Linked DNA regions of Homo sapiens: region 1 is linked to region 2. The links are contacts of gene promoters, found by promoter capture Hi-C in human tissues and cell types (Jung and others, 2019). All regions are on one chromosome and are shown on one strand. The core of a region is centred on a gene start or on the middle of the fragment in contact, and the rest is flanking DNA. Distances in the headings are between cores, read along the strand shown. Region 1 overlaps SEC31B (SEC31 homolog B, COPII component). Region 2 holds the start of SEMA4G (semaphorin 4G).

Evidence for each region. Contacts are between HindIII fragments. The study calls those that stand out against the background at their distance.
Region 1: a fragment that was not itself captured here is called in contact with the fragment with the promoter of SEMA4G in region 2 in 1 of the 25 tissues and cell types used here (lymphoblastoid cells).

What each region holds. Positions count from the first base shown.
Region 1 is chr10:100,500,201-100,504,068 of GRCh38, forward strand. SEC31B (SEC31 homolog B, COPII component) reads right to left here. Exons shown (of 26, transcript NM_015490.4): 11 at 2,054-2,284. Among named protein-coding and RNA genes, the nearest start is that of SEC31B, 18 kb to the right of the region's middle. The HindIII fragment of the contact is 5,735 bases long and covers 1-3,868 here.
Region 2 is chr10:100,967,081-100,971,224 of GRCh38, forward strand. It overlaps SEMA4G (semaphorin 4G), which reads left to right and starts at 2,424. Exons shown (of 15, transcript NM_017893.4): 1 at 2,424-2,511. RefSeq lists a silencer at 2,381-2,440. The HindIII fragment of the contact is 9,481 bases long and covers 587-4,144 here.

The sequences.
Region 1 (3,868 bases), core at 692-3,191, 470 kb before region 2:
GGCTCCCACAGAAGACACCTGCCTGATGCTACCCTGCTGTGGTCCCTATCCCATATCCTTCCGAGGAGACTGCTGCCAAGTGTAGCCTACAGTAGTCTTGTGAGTCTAAATGTTTCTTTTCTTTTTTTTTTTTAGACAGACTCTTGCTGTCTCAACCAGGCTGGAGTACAGTGGCGCCATGTCGGCTCACTGCAACCTCCACCCTCAGGGTTCAAGTGATTCTCCTGTCTCAGCCTCCTAAGTAGCTGGAATTACAGGCGCCCTCAACCACGCCCGGCTAATTTTTTGTATTTTTAGTAGAGACAGGGTTTCACCATGTTGGCCAGGCTGGTCTCGAACTCCTGACCCCAGGTGATCCACCCACCTCAGCCTCCCAAATTGCTGGGATTACAGGCGTGAGCCACCGCACCCAGCCTTGTGAGTCTAAATGTTTCTTTGAGAAGACCTCTGGTAGAAGTTGCACAGGTACAGTAAACAAAGTCAGCTTCCCACTCAATGTCCCAAATACCAAGGAGCAAACCTTTCTGAAGCCCCCGTAATCTTGGTTAGCTGTCCCAGGCCCTTAATTTATTCCACACTGAAACATGATTTCTAACCATACCTTTCTCATAGTCTCTCTGGGCACCCTTCTCCTTCCATGCCCTTCCCTTGGAAATGTTCACCACACCCAACCAGGAACCATCATGATGGACAGCTCTTGGGTAGCTTTTAAACCAGAATGCCTGGCCAGGCGCGGTGGCTCACGCCTATAATGCCAGCACTTTGGGAGGCTGAGGTGGGTGGATCACCTGAGTTCAGGAGTTCGAGACTAGCCTGGCCAACATGGTGAAACCCTGTCTCTACTACAAAAAAAATACAAAAAATACAAAAAAAAAAAAACCCTGTCTCTAAAAAAAAATACAGGCGTGGTGGCAGGTGCCTGTAATCCCAGCTATTTAGGAGGCTGAGGCAGGAGAATTGCTTGAACCCGGGAGGCAGAAGTTGCAGTAAGCCAAGATCATGCCATTGTACTCCAGCCTGAGCGACAAGAGTGAAACTCTGTCTCAAAAAAACAAAAACAAAAAAACCCAGAATGCCCTGTCCTATAGGTCCCTCTGTCCTATAGGTACCACTGTCTCCTTTGTTTAGCGGAGTAAAGGCTGAACTCCTGACCACTCCCTCTCTTTACCATCTCACCATTCCTGGAACTTGTATCCTGCTTATGACAAAAGCATCATTTCTTATTCTTTTCTTCCCACATCATTCTCTGGCTTCACTGTATAGTCAAGATCTTTCTCAAATCCTCTTTCTCTAACTTCCTGATGTCCACCTTCATAAAGCTCTACTATGCCTAAAGCTCAAATTTCAAGTCCCTCTCAGATGCCCTGGTACAGGCCCAATCCTTTTTGCTTTCTTCTAAACAATTCCAAAAACTTGCACAATCATCCCACTGACTGACCAGTCAGCTACTTGCCTTTCTTCCTTCAGATCTCTCACTTGCTCATTTCCTTTGATAGGTATAGTACTCCTCCTGGTGTCACAGGAAACTTGAAATTAAATGAGAACTGGAACTGAACCCATGCCTCCAGTGTACAGTGGCACCTGAACCCTAGGACCCACTCCAAGGACTTGCCTTGGGTTACTTGAAACCAACTCAAAGCCTTCTTATGACAATATGTCCTTCTAACTAATGTTTTTCCTTTCTCCTCTTTTTCTCTTTCCTCCCTTTTTTCTTCCTTCCCATTACCTTATCTGCCCTTTGGCATGATACCGTGAAGGTCTTTGCCTTGGCCCTGGTAAAATACCTAGGACATCAACCATAGTAGCAACAAAAGAAAACATCTCGTGTATTCCCCATCTTTCCTAGCCTCTTCCCAAATGGCCTTTGAGCCTCTGGTAAAGGGTGAACGTTTTGTGTCTAGATGGTGGGTATAGTGTGGGGGAAAAACTAATGGGAGTTAAGGCCTCTGTGATCTGGGTCCCAGTGTGCTTGTGCTTCTCCTGCAGTTGACAGAGGTTGGAGTTCCAGGCTTTGGGGAGACACTTCTGAGCAGCTAGCCTTCAGGCTTCCCACCTTCAGGAACTGCCACAGCATCTTTTCACTTTGCAGTAAAGCTTGCTGGCTCTTGTTCTGACAGTAATTCAGTAGATTTCCTGATCCCAAGGCCTCCTGCAGCTCAGCTGATCGCATCAGGAATTCAGATTCTGTGGTGACTTGACTGATGAAGACTAGGCGGGGGCAAGGCTGTGGCACCAGATGGGCAGGGGTGCTGGGGAGGCCAAAAGTAACCAGCTTCCCTCCAAACTGGTGAGGAAAAGCAAGAAGGGTAAAGGTTATACCTTCAAGTCAAAAAGTAACACTAAGTCAGATTCACAGAGAAGGCTATCTAATGGCTGACCCTAGGCTAGGAAATAAATAAAATAAGAGAGTTCCTGGGGGGTGGAATAGGATCAGGAATTTAGTATTGAATTCGTCTCCCTACCAAAACCACTTCTGCACTCTTAGGACCACCCACTTCAAACTTCACCACACAAGACTCACCTTCTGCTAACCTGTCCTGGTACCACCATTCTCCCAGTCACCTGGGCTAAATACCTCAGCATTAGCAAAGTCTTCATACCCCCTATAGCCAAGCAACGACAAAGTCCTACCTATTCTTGTTCACTGTCTTTCATGCAGGTCCCCTCCATCCCATTCCCAGTGCCAGTACCCCCAGATTACTAAAATAGTTTGCTAGCCTTCTGTTCTTTTCCCTCCTCTAATTAAGCCTTAGACTATCCCTCTATTGCTTGTACCAACCTGCTGCTATTCAGGAGCCTGTGTGGTTTCACAAGGCCACAGGAAAGAGCTTAAGCTCCCCTTCCTGCAGTGCACAAACCTCTGCAAAATCAGGGCCAAACCTATCTTTCCCAGCATCTCTCTCCCTGCTTGTTTATTATAATTGCTCCACATCCCTAAAATGCCTGGTGTGTTCCTGCTTCTGTGCCTTTACCCACAACACCCCCACCTGGAGTATCCGTCTCACCAAATTAGATGCCTTATATAAAGCATCTGGCACAAAACAGGACCTTAGAAAAACCCTTTTTACTCCAGCAGTTCTCAACATTGGCTGCATATTAAAACCACATGGAGAACAATCCAGACTTGCCAGGCCACACCCCAGACAATACAATCAGAAACTCTGGGGATGGGACTAGGCATCAGTATTTTTTGAATTATTCAGGTTATTCCAATGTGTATCCAAGGCTGACAACTTTTTTTTTTTTTTTTGAGATGGAGTTTTGTTCTTGTTGCCCAGGCTGGAGTATAATGGCGCAATCTCGGCTCACCGTAACCTCCGCCTCCCAGGTTCACTCGATTCTCCTGCCTCAGCCTCCCAAGTAGCTGGGATTACAGGTATGCACCACCACGCCCGGCTAATTTTGTATTTTTAGTAGAGACAGGGGTTTCTCCATGTTGGTCAGGCTGGTCTCGAACTCCCCGACCTCAGGTGATCCACCTGCCTCGGCCTCCCAAAGTGCTGGGATTACAGGAGTAAGCCACCAGCGCCTGGCCGACAACTTTTTTTTTTTTTTAATTTTTACTTTAGGTTAAAAAAATTCAATCCAATGCAGTAAATGTCCATGTTTGTTATATGGTAAACTTGTGTCATGGGGGTTTGTTGTACAGATTATTTGGCGTTGATAACTATTGCTTTACTCCCTAACTATTCACCATTTCTTTTCCCAATATCCACCTCCTAATGAACTCTCCCAGTCAGAATTCTTATTTACCGTGACTTCTGCAGCACAAAATCTACACCACAGATTAGTGCTAAACAAAACCATTTTAACTTTTGATTTATATAGTACTTGATAGTTTTACAAAGTGTGTACATATATTCTTATT
Region 2 (4,144 bases), core at 1,174-3,673:
TGTGTCCCAGGATGCAGATTTATGGCTGGGTTAGGGTTAATTTCTTTAGTTGATTTCCAGTTTTCTTTTCCACTGTCTGTCAGTATTCCCCCGTTCTTATTTTACCAGCTGGATTTGCAGAGAGACATACTGTCAATCAAAAGGGCTTCCTATGGGCAGCTCCATTAATTGCTTTTACATCTGATACTCTCATTAGGTTTAGAGATTTTACTGGGAGGCTAGCAGAAGGAAATGGATTGTGGTCTGCTATCAAAAGTACTGAAGTAACTGCCCAGTGATCATTGAAATCACACATTTTGCTCATTTAACAATGTCTGAGTTTGCCATCAGCACCTCAGAGGAGCAAAGCTTGGTTCATAAAGTGAAGTTGAGTGATACTGAGCCTACCACACTGGCCTACTCGCCACCTCCAGAGCTATCTGAAGTCAGCACTGCAGGTTCTGTGAACATTTGGGAAGCTGTGCCTCTTAGCCCCCTGGGCCCCTACAGTTTAATTGCTCTCCTATCTGCTACTGAAGGACCAGCAGTCTTCCTACCCTGCCTCCACTGTTACCACCAACCCACTTTTTGATAAGGACTGCAGATTTATCTTTCTTAGCCCTGCCTTGACTGGTCTTCCCACCTCAGACGTCCTTACTCAGTCCATCATCTCTTTCAGGATTTTCTTCTGTGGTCTTTTTCAAACTACTAGCTGACTTTTCCCTTTTATTTCCCACTAGGAACCCCTCCCCGCCCCCCCCCCCCCCCCAGCCATTTCATCAAATCAAACTCACTGCCCTCTTTCATGCCCCTTCCTTAGTTCCCCAACACAAGCCTGTGCATAAGCTTGAACATTTCTACCTTTGCCAATGGTATTTCCCCTTCTGGCTTACCCTGCTTCCTCCTTCTCAGACTTTTCCAGTCTTGATTGTCCTCTCCATAAACACAAGAATGAACTTCAAGGCAAGTTACTTAATGTCTTAGAGCCTGTTTCCCCATCCATAAAATGGGGCTATAAATTCCTCAGGATGGGATGAGGGTACAAATAAAAAATGAAGCAGGATATTCTTTGTAAAAGTGTGTGTACATTTTTTATTGTGTTTCTCCCCAGCTACCTTCCCTCTCCCCGCCACACACATCCTATTTGCAGAGTGTTGGGGGAGGTGGAACTGTGATGTGGGCCCTGCTGTCTAGCAGTCTGCAGTCACACACAGCCATCCAAACTACGAGATTGTATATGATTCAGTGCCAAACTGTGAGCTTTGGGGAATCCAGAAAGAAGGATGAAGCCTTTCCCAAGTTTCCTTTAGTTAAATGTGCCACTTGAATCCTGTTCTGACTCCTAGGCACATGCAAGAGTCAATCACATATGTTCCTGTGGCCTTTATCATTTTGGTCCATCTCTTGAGCCCACATGAATACTGTCATGGATGGAGGAGGAAGGACCAGGCTGGGTCAGGGCCTGAATGCAGGTTTTGTTTGGACTATAGGGGCTAAGTTCACTTTAATAGGCTGTGACCTATTAAAGGAGGCAGGAACCAAGTTTGCACAGAAGGACCATCCTAGTTGAGTTAAAGGAGTTGGGGAGTTGATTGTGAGGGGTTTCCTAGATTGCTGCTGGGTAAGGTGATTGAATCTGGGAAGGATAGGGTACTTGATTGCCTAGAAGGGTGCACTCTAAGTTCTGGATAAGAATGGTGCCCAAGATGAGCTGGAGGGGAAGGCAAGTGTTTGAATGACCCAGTCCCTGAGGTGAGCCTAGGTTAGGGTTAAGATTTGGTGAGTGAACAGGTGCAAACGCTTGTGGCTTATTTATCCAGAAAAAGCATTTTCTGTGTGCCTTTCAGGTCAGGCTGTTACTTTATCCCCTTCAGGCCTGACCCCATCTCCCCCACGCATAGCTCAAGCTGAACAGCCCCTGAAGCTGGGAATCAAGCCCCTACCTTGTGTTCAGAGCTTCCCTAACGTCCAGTCGCCACCTAGGGTAGCCTTCCCTCCACACCCTAGGCCGAGAGCAGAAGCGGGTGGCAGGAGCACAGGGAGTGAGGTCCAGGTTAGAGGACAGGCCAGAAGGCCCTCCGAGAGGGTCCCCCAACCCCGCAACGCCAGGACAGGTTTGCACGTCCCCAGCAGTAGGCAAGTCAGGGGGGTCCTAGGGTTACAGCGGAGGAGAGGACGGGCTATAAGCATGTGGAGGGTGCACGGGGTGGCGAGGCCACCACCAGGGGGCGATTTCAGGGCCGCAGCGCCTAGAGGTGGGGGGTCGCCCGATGGCCGAAGGCTGTGTGTGAGCCTCGCCCTCAAACCGCCTCTATTGTGCTAGAGTAGGGGGCGCAAAGAAGAGAGTGGCGACCTTCCCCTCACCCCACCCAGTCGGCCCCGCCTTTCAGGACCCCGCCCCACCCCCGGCTCCGCCTCCACCACCCCCCCCCCGCCCCGCCTCCAGCCGCGGCCCCTTCCTCTCGCAGCTGGTGCTGTGGGGCCGCGGAGCCGCGCGTCGCTGTCTCTATGGCCCCGGATCCGAGCGCAAAGGTGAGCAAGGCGAGGAGTGCGGGCGGCGCCCTGGCGTGAGCCTGGGGCTGCGGGCCGGGGGTCGGGCAAGGCCTCCCCCACGTCCATTCTACCCTCCAAGCTGGGCCAGGCCTTTCTCACCACCAAGTCCCCCGGTCCTGCATGACGGCTCTAGAGGGGCGCGGGCCAGGCCTCGGGCTGCGCGGGGTGCAAACCGGCCACCACGGAGTCGGGGACCAGCGCGGGGAGGGGGCCGCGTGGCGAACAGTGTTCCCCAGGATCTGGGTCACGTCTCCCGGCGTCCGGCGGGATCGAAGGAGAGCTTGTCCTCGAGCTGCAGCAGTAGAGACTGAGGTTAGACCTGACGAAGGGAGAGGACCGCGGACTGTCCAGGATGTTGGAGGGAGGGGGTCCCGGGGGAGGGGCTCTCTCAAGCCAGGAGAGACCGCCATCCTACTAGGCAGAGGGAAATACCGCCTACACTAGGCAGGTGGACATCTGGGATGAAGGTCGAGAGCCTGCTGATCCTCCATTGATCCTGTTTGAAGGGTCTCTCCTCCCCAGTTCCCTCCACCCCAAGATCTAATAGAGGAAAGGTGATCAGAGTTCAGGGGGCTGGCCCTGGGGAAGAACCCGAACTGTGGAACTTGGGGTGGAGTGTGGGGCGTGGACTGGAGACCTTAAACCCGTACTTCGCCACTGAAGGGAGGGGTGATATGCTCCGCCCCGCCCACTTAGCCCCGCCCCCTCCCACAGGTTAAGTGGGGGCTGAGAGCTCCAGCCCGTCTCCCACCTTTAGAACCGCAATATACATAGGGGTGGAGGAGTACTAAATTATGCGTTCCATTCCATCTTTGCTGAAGCTAGGGGCCTCCTCCTGCCTGAGTTACTTTCCCATTCCCTCCCTTGTAGAGCGGCCTTGACTCATGCACCCATCCCATCTGCCCATCCAAGGTCAGAAGCCTCCCCCATCACCACACACACACACACACACAACCCCCTCACCACCCCCACACACAAACACACACTTGAAATTGGGCCTTAGAATTGGGACTTTCAGGAACAGAGGCAGGGTTCTGCTCTGCATCTCACCCCAGTGGACACTGGCAGCCTCCAAGCCTATGGCAAAAACTGGACCCCTGTATGCATGTGTGCTTGTCTCTGCATGGATGTAGTTGTGTGTTCAAGAACTGCGTGTGAGCACACATGTACTTGACCCTTCTGTGAACATGATTGCCTGGCCCACTATATCAATGGGTTTGTGTGCATGTCCCTACACATACATGTGTATGTATAGGACCCTCCTGTTGAATAGGTGCACAGTCCTTGACACAAACCCACATGTGTGGGTTTATCTCTCCTCAATGTCTGAGGCTGTGTGACCTGCTGAATGGATGGGCATGTAAATTCAACGTCACATGTGAATATGTATGATTACCTGTGGCTGTGGCCCTCTGTATGAGCATATGTGTGCACAAAACTCCCTGTGAGTATATGTGTGAATGACCCCTGTGAATCCACGTGTTCACAGTCCTCCTTGTGAACATGTGTGTGTGTGTGTGTGTGCACCCATGTGCATGTATATCACCTTCCTAATAGTCACCCATGTGACTCTTAAACTATAAGTGTGACATGCACCACACTGAGTGGCTCC